2 separate regions of the Homo sapiens genome follow, and region 1 is linked to region 2. The links are contacts of gene promoters, found by promoter capture Hi-C in blood cells and fetal thymus (Javierre and others, 2016). All regions are on one chromosome and are shown on one strand. The core of a region is centred on a gene start or on the middle of the fragment in contact, and the rest is flanking DNA. Distances in the headings are between cores, read along the strand shown.

Evidence for each region. The method cuts DNA at HindIII sites, captures the fragments that hold promoters and counts their contacts. A CHiCAGO score of 5 or more calls a contact.
Region 1: a contact is called between a fragment that was not itself captured here and the fragment with the promoter of OSBPL6 in region 2, in 2 of 17 cell types (megakaryocytes and erythroblasts). The highest score is 5.9, in megakaryocytes.

What each region holds. Positions count from the first base shown.
Region 1 is chr2:178,393,503-178,397,492 of GRCh38, forward strand. It overlaps OSBPL6 (oxysterol binding protein like 6), which reads left to right. Exons shown (of 25, transcript NM_032523.4): 24 at 811-933; 25 at 1,949-3,990. The coding sequence ends at 2,057. Among named protein-coding and RNA genes, the nearest start is that of CHROMR, 18 kb to the right of the region's middle. The HindIII fragment of the contact is 2,738 bases long and covers 1,311-3,990 here.
Region 2 is chr2:178,192,782-178,197,044 of GRCh38, forward strand. OSBPL6 (oxysterol binding protein like 6) reads left to right here and starts at 1,731. Exons shown (of 25, transcript NM_032523.4): 1 at 1,731-1,893. RefSeq lists silencers at 1,285-1,974, 2,421-2,715. The HindIII fragment of the contact is 4,321 bases long and covers 1-2,716 here.

The DNA of each region.
Region 1 (3,990 bases), core at 1,430-3,929, 200 kb after region 2:
GCCATCTGCCAAAATGCTCTCAGTTTTGAATGTTCCACTATTTAATTCTCTTCTATTTTGCCCTCTCTCTCTAGAACATGTTGTCTTGCTATTTGACATTCAAATTTATTAATAAACTTCCTGTACAATGTATAGCATATTATATTCCTGTTCTTTGCTCTCATTTTGAAATGTAAGCATTTGTAAGTCACCATTCAGTCTGCTTTTTCCTTCTCAATTCTATTTCAGTGTTCCTTTTCTGAATTTCATTTACTATTCATTTCACATTCTGTGGCCTTTTGTAATTTTCCCCATTACCTTTTCTTTTCTCATCAGTTTTGCCCTCTCCAGTAAAACAGGAAAGCTCCTTCCCTCTCAGCCTGTTCTCAAAATAGACGGAGAATAGCCAGTTACCATCCTCCATTCTATGGCCTTTTAGCAAAAGCTTTCTGATAATATAGAAAAGGAACATGGCTATGACTTCACGCTCTTCTCACCCTGGACTCTGCAGTTGTCCTGAAAATCTCAAGTTATAGAACCCTAGACAGCATAGAAAAGTCTTCAAGGCCAAACCACCCACCTTTCACTGATATTGCTGATTATAATAATTCAGTTCATGTACATAGAAAATATGTAAATCCTGGGAGGCAGAGGTTGCAGTGAGCTGAGATCACACCACTGCACTCCAGCCTGGCGACAGAGCAAGACTCCGTCCGTTACTGTGCGGTATTTTATGTTCATAGCAATTAGAAAACAATTTTGTGCAAATGAGGTTTTTTTTCCCCCAGAAAAGAGGATAATATGTTAAAATATCAACTGCTTTCTGCTTAGATTTTTGGAAGAAGGAAATTTAGAAGCTGCAGCATCAGAGAAGCAAAGAGTAGAGGAACTCCAGAGATCTCGGAGACGATATATGGAAGAAAACAATCTTGAACATATACCAAAATTTTTTAAGTAAGTCAGTTAACTCCCATAGCAAGTTCATGTTTTGCAAATGGTTGCCACAGGCCATGAGAAACTCCAGTTAAATGAAAATAAAATGGGTAAATGGATTTTGGTATCTTTGCTTTTGGCAGTGAAAATATTGAATCGATTTTGCACTTATGAAAAGTTAGTAACTATAAAAAGAAATTTTTTCTACAGCTCTTCTCTTTTCATGGGCAGCAGAAAAGAGTGAGCATCCTGCCCAGAAGGCTCTTTGTCCTTCAGCTGCACTCTTTAGAATGGTGGAAACTGGTTCCCACTCCCTTAGCCAGGGACTGAACCAGACCCCACTGCCCACAAGATCATCCTGGCTTTTATTAGGATTTCATTTTATTTCTATCACACAAAGCTTGTGTGTGTTTAGATTTGGTCTCTCTGTGGTATGATAGTAGGTGATTATTACAGGATTATTTGCAGGATTATATATACATCACACAGATTAATCTGAGGTTTCCAAATGCATCTGTTGCCCTCCAGAGCCAGGACAAAAAGCTCAGGGTAACCTTATCTCCTTTAGACTTGTCCTGTCATTACTGCCCTGGGGTAGAAATGCAGCCTTGCCCTTCAGATGTCTAAAATGTGCTCCTTGGACATGGGCCCAGTAGGGGCTCTTAGAGCTACTGATATTGCATACTTTTAGTGAAGGAGAAAGGATTCTTGTGGGTCTGGGACCTGAAGCTCTTAGTTACAGTATTTGTATATGCTTTATTGGGGGCTATTTACTTTTTACCCCTGCCAGGAGGTAATTTGTTCCTGCCCTGAGTTCCTCTCCCCCTGGCCCTACCTACTTCCATTTCACACATTTAACAACAAAAATGACTTCACTTCCAGTCAAAAATAGTCACATCATCAGTAGCTAGCAGATAAGATACTAACTGGCTTACAAACACTGCTTATATGTCCATGTCTAATCTATAGGAGAGGGTCCTATTTAAGGTTACCTTGATGTGATTCATGACTAATGTTGATGTTTATATTTTCACAGAAAAGTTATTGATGCCAATCAAAGAGAAGCCTGGGTTTCTAACGACACCTACTGGGAGCTTCGAAAGGACCCTGGGTTTAGCAAAGTAGACAGCCCTGTTCTTTGGTAGACTGGGAATGTAGAGCTAGCCAACATATCACATTCTGAATGAATAAATAACTATGCACAATTATGTTTCTTATAGCTATGTGTGGTTTCTGGGTCAACTGAAAACCTACCATTTGCTTTTCTATTCATCTTTATAATGGACTTTCAGAAGTGCATTAGACAAGGCCCCTAACCACTTTGGGATCCTTTCTGTTTTGCTGCAACCATATTCCTTAAAAAAAAAAAAAAAAAAAAAAAAAAAATCCACACCGTCCTTGGAAAGCAGAATAAAAGGAGCAGAATATAAAATCCAAAGTCTGACCAGTTTGTAAAGAAAAACAAATGGTAACTGGTGCTTAAAGCTGATCAAGAAAGTTAACAACAACATAGAAACCACACGATTGTTCCACTGTCTGGAAGCACCATCCCCTATCGCAGGACTCCTGGGCCACAAGCAGTCGGTCAGTGCAGACTTCAAGTGTGTCTGTTTGATGTGGTGTGATTGTGCTGGCCTTGTCGAAAAAGATGTGATGCTTCTCAGAACCTGTTCCATCTGTATGCCATTGTTCATGCCTTAAGAAATGCAAAGATGTACAATAAATCATTTTTAAAATGTGTGCTCATAGGTTTATGTGAAGAACAGATTTTTTGAATCATGGCATGATTCACTTTCTCAATCAGGACAATTATGAGACTAACTTAAATGGGTTTTTTAAAAGTGAACAACACGTGCTTTACTCTGATAAGTCAGTTACCATATGGTATGTCTGAAGGGAAAGAAGGAAAAGACGTGCTAAGTAGATCTCTGTATTTACGTGGCTCGTTAATTTCCTGTCCTGCGTCCAGATAATAAACCATCCCTCTTCCACCTAACCTCACAGTGTGCCCTATTATTTGGAAAAATCTGTCTTTGATTTGGACATTTGGTCATCAGTGTTAAAACCTTAAAAGGAAATAACAAAAAGCATATGGAATTCCTGTGTGGGCTTAGTAGTACTATAAATGTAATTGTTTTTGAGTGAAGCACCATGTAATCCATGTCTCAATCCCATGCCCGCTCCACTGACACTAGTCGAATTCCACTGAGAACAGAAGCAAGAATAATAGTAGTTTATTTGCATTGTTTAAATGAATTCTATGCAAAATCATATTTCAAATTTTCATCAAGTGATTCCATATGGTACATGGCTACATATTAAGCATTTACCTTGCTATTGGCAGAGATATGAAACTTAAGCTAAGGAATGTATCCATCCCAAAGCAGGAAAGCAGAAGTGTGTTTTGCATACTTCAGGATTTGTTTTTCCTCCACTAATATACAGAGGCTTTTGCAGAAAACTTGCATCAGTATTCCTGTTTCTGCACGTAGGTGACTATATAAATGCCTGTATGTTTTTTTTAAAATATCTCCTCAGAGATTTTCCTAGGGAATTATAAAATTACATATATTTTATTGTTAGTTAGATGTTTATTCTTGGATTCTTACCATTAGAATTTAAGTGTTATTTAAAACTCTGATACAGTTACAGACACTTTACATTTTATTATGAGGTGTTGATTTTAGTGGTATTTCTCCTCAGCAAAGCATTCCTAATAATGGCTAATACACCATCAAATGAAAAACTGCTGATGAGAGTGTAAGAGAAAGCGCTAACGTTTCCACTAGATGGCGCAATATTTTATTTATCCAAAACTCCTCCCTTGCATCTGAGTTTTTATGTTATGTGTACAGTCTGCATTAGCTTAGAATGGAATTTCATTCTCAGGTAAATTTTCGAATCCATCACCAGATCTAAGCATTCTGCTTCAACAATACCCTCTCTATTCCTCTCATTCCCATTTTAAATCCATAGGTGGCTTGCCCTGCGGCAGTAAAATCTTCCCCTTGATATTGATTCTTTTTCTGCTCATTCATCTTGATGTTCTTTTTCTGCATCCTGAGATACATGTCGTTA
Region 2 (4,263 bases), core at 481-2,980:
GATCTCAGCTCACTGCATCCTTTGCCTCCCAGGAAGTTGAGATTTCAGGAAGTTCAAGCGATTCTTGTGCCTCAGCCTCCCGGGAAGTTGAGATTTCAGGTGCCTGCCACCACACCCTGCTAGTTTTTGTATTTTTAGTAGAGACGGGGTTTCACCATGTTGGTCAGGCTGGTCTCCAACTCCTGACCTCAAGTGATCCGCCCGCCTTGGCCTCCCAAAGTGCGGGAATTAAAGGCGTGAGCCACCGCGCCGGGCCTAGAGAACTTCTTTAGGTAAAGATTCTGTGTGCTGTGTGTACTCTCATTTCCGTTCACACTTTTGTATTTCTTTTTAAATACATGGGTTTTAGCTTTTTTTCTTTTAAGGGAGAAAGCCATTTCAGTAGAGTTTCTGTTAATGGAACTCAGAAGGAGTAAGTAGAAAGGGTGGCTGTGATGAAGCAGAGGTCAGCATCCCAGCTGCTCCCTTGAGGAGCCTGTCTTCACAGCAAAGGAATGAAGGACAAACTGCCATTGTCGCAGGGTCCCGCATCTATTATTTTGTGACCAGAGGACATGAGAACATTGCTAGTCTAGATGGAAAAAGCTAATCCAACAGGTGAGATTGGAGATTCAAGAGAAACTGCATGTGGGAAGGAGTGCATAAAGTCGACTATGTTTCATAGCAAATCATTTTGTCAGCACAGGGCACAATGAAATGCCATCACAGTTGCCTCATTAGTAAGCAATATCTTCCATTTTTGAAGGCACCCCAGCATGTTCTGTAATAGCTCCCATTAAGTCCAGTCGATGTCCTCTGGACTCCCCCTCCGCCTCCCACCCCCAGATGATGATGACACAAATGTCTTGAAATATTGACATGTCCGCAGTCACTCGTTTACAGAATGTCTGTACAAATATTTACATTACCCCGTCCCTCCCAGCAAATTTGCCTTTAGATTAATCTGCACACCGAACGCAGGCCGGGAGTGGCTTGGAGTGTGGAAGGGTTTAAGGGTGTGGAAGGGTTGTAGTGAGGCGGGACTGACTGACTTTGATCGGCTTTGCCAGGGGCTTGAAGGAACCGGCTCTTCCTTTCGCAGAACCCAGGTGTTTCTCTGGGCCCGGGAAGTTTTTGCTCCCGAGCGAGTCAGGGACGGGAGCAGGCACGCACAGTCGCGTAAGTGTATGAAATGACGACCTCAGAAGGGCGCCCAGGGACATGGGTTTGGCAGCCCCGAGCGGAGGCCGCCAGGCAGCCGTTCCTTTCGGAATTCGGTCTCCCGCAGTGCTCCCGGCTGCGGCGCTCCTGGGCCGAGCGCTGGAGCCGTTCTGGGCAACCCTCCCGAGCGCGGCCGGCTCACCTCCGCCGGACTGCGCGGGGCGAGGGCTCCGCTACTGCGCGCAGGCCCGCGGATGGCAACTCGGGGTTTCCACTGCGGGTGATCTCGGGACACCACGGGTTCCCACGGAGGCCGGGCCAGGGGAGAGCCCTGGCTGTGGGACCCCGCGTGACCAGGGCGCAGGGCGCCGGGTCCTTAGCCCATCTGGCGGCGCAGGGAGGGGCGCCCGGTAGGGCGGGTGCGCAGCATGAGCCCCAGCCGCTTGCCGCTCCACTCCAGCCGGGCGGACGGGCGGGAGCCGGGGGCGGGGAACCCGGAGCGCCGCCCCGCCAGCGCGCCCCGCCCGTGGGAGAGGAGGGGCTGCAGCGCAGCGGACCACTGGAGGCGCAGCACGGTCGCCGCCGCCGCTGTCGGTGCTGGAGATCGCGGCTCGGTGCAGGCGGCGCCCATGCCTCCTCTCCTCCACTAGCCCGCGCGCCAGTCCGCCTGCCGGGGCCGGCTCTCCGCCTCCTGCCTCCCGTCGCAGCCGCGCAGCCGCCGCAGAGTCCGCGGCGCCACCGCTCGCCCTCCAGGTAGGTGTCCTAGCTGCAAAGGGATTGCTTGGGGCGGGCGCCAAGGTGCCCGCATCGCGGCCCGGGGGCATTGTGCGCCTCCGGCGGGCCGAGGACCCCGAGGGACGCGTGGGTGGGCAGCCGCAGCTTCGGGTCCCCAGGACATCGCCGTCCCCCTGGAGGCGCCCCCGGCCGATAGCCCGGGCTACAGGGAAGTGGGGGCGGCGGTGTCAGCCCATTCTCGCGGCCGGGATGGGAGGGGGCGTCTGTATCGCGGTCCCGGTTTGCCGCCCTCCCTCCCCCTCGTTGCCAGGGAATTCCGGCCGCCTGCCACTAGCGCTCGCATTCCCTCGCGCGGGCCGGCGCCCCTGCTCCCCGCAGGCTGCCTGGGGATTGAAGCAGGGGCAGGGAGAAGGACTGATGTAATTGTCAGCGGAAAACCGAACCGGCGCGGGTGAGAGCGCCCGCGCCCGCGAGAGCTAACGCCTACGCCGCACCTTTCAGGGAATCGGGGAAGCCGAGAGGAGCGGCTGGGGAAGTTGTGCATTGGGTTTTATTGTGCGCGTGCACTGCGGACTGCCCTCGCGGGGCACCCCTGCCCACCCGCTGCTGGCGCCCCTGCAGCCCTCCCGGCAGCCTCCGTCCACTCCCCCGGCCAGGGCCAAGTCTGCCTTCCCTGGTTCAGACCGGGACAGCGTTTGCATTGCAGTCAAGACGTGCTTCCCCTGCATCAAGCCGGGAGCTGCCCGCAGATCGTGTCGCCGGGGATGCTGGGGGAGGAGGGAATGGGAGACCTGAGGAGAAAGCCTGGAGAAGTAATGACACAAGCGGATTTTCTCCCCAAAGCTTCTGCTGCGTATAGACACATCTGCAAGGCACCTTTTAAGCTGTTTTTGAAAGTTATAACCAGATACTGATTTTGTGACAATTCTATGATATACCTGAACGGTTGCTTAAACATAGAGACCTAAAGCTAGGGGAAGCATTACATAATGGACATGAAGCAAATGACACGAAACTAAGTGAACCCACTGGGTTGCCAGATTATTTCTCTCTTCTGGACACAAAATCCTGTAAGGTTTTTTCTATAGGAACTTTCATTTTTAAATTGCTGGGCTAAGTTTAGCCAATTGTCTATTATATTCAGTTGTGATTTTTTTTTTCTAAATAATTTTCTTGGACATCTTTTCTTAAATTTAAAAATTGCATACTAATGGTTACATATCACTAAGCTGATTAGGAAATGTAGTCTTCACAAGGTAAAAATAAGAAATTTCCCATCTTAATACATTAACTTTGTTTTCCTCTTGTTTTGTTTTTGTTTCTTTTCCTTCTTTCATCCTTCCCCCCGCCCCCAACCCCCGCTTTATTTTTTGGAAACATTTCTACAGTTTTGGGTACTGCAAGCTCACAACGTTGATATTTCTATCACATGCTACAGCATTGCGGAGACAAAGACTAATAATAAATGAAACAGAAGACCTCGCAGTAACTCTGAGAGTTAGCAGGGTTCCCAAGGTCGAAGGGAAGCTGCAGTGTAATTCAGCAATAATCACCTACAGAGAATATGCATAGCCCTCATTGGGAAAGGCCCTGATTGGTGGATTTTATTATTATTATTCTTTTGCAGTAGGAGTTCATATATTTTTTCCCTAAAAAATAATTTTTCTTAAGGTAAAAATGAAATATTTTGAAATTAAAATTTCAGGCTTTTAGAAAGCCTAAAAATTCTGGTTTTGCTCATATTTTTGGATGCAATGTTGATAACGCCATTATACATTCAGTGGATGGATTACCTTTGGCGGTACCTCAGTTTCAGATTACTATGACTTGTCAGGTGACTCTTGGCTTTAGTATGAGGTAGTTCTGCTGGACTTTTATAGGATCACATATGTAAGTTTTCTTATCCCTAGATTGCTATAACCTTAAGTTAACTTTATTTCAAGGAGAAAAATAAAGTCCTTCCAAGATGAAATCTTTGTGGTTGGAGGTCTTAGTACCACCACAGATACCGGATTAGGTAAACTGCATAAGGAGATAAAAATTCTTATGACTTTACTCATGAAACTGTTGGACTAGAGAGAAGATAATATAGTTTTGAAAGGTAAGGCATACATTCTCAAAAGAAGGATTTTGTTGTTTTGCTGCAAAGGTTAGGTCATAATTATGATACTTTTTAAAAAGTGGTTTTAAATCTTGGGGGAAAAAGGGTCTCATAGTATCCATTGACTTCTGGAACTTTTTTTTCCTCACTCAATATTATATCTCTGGATTCATTCATACTGTATGTAGTTGTAGTTCACTGACTTTCACTGCAGTAAAATATTCCATTATGTGTCTTATAACGCAGTATGTTTCTCTTTTCTCCTCTCTGACCATTTTTTTTTTTTT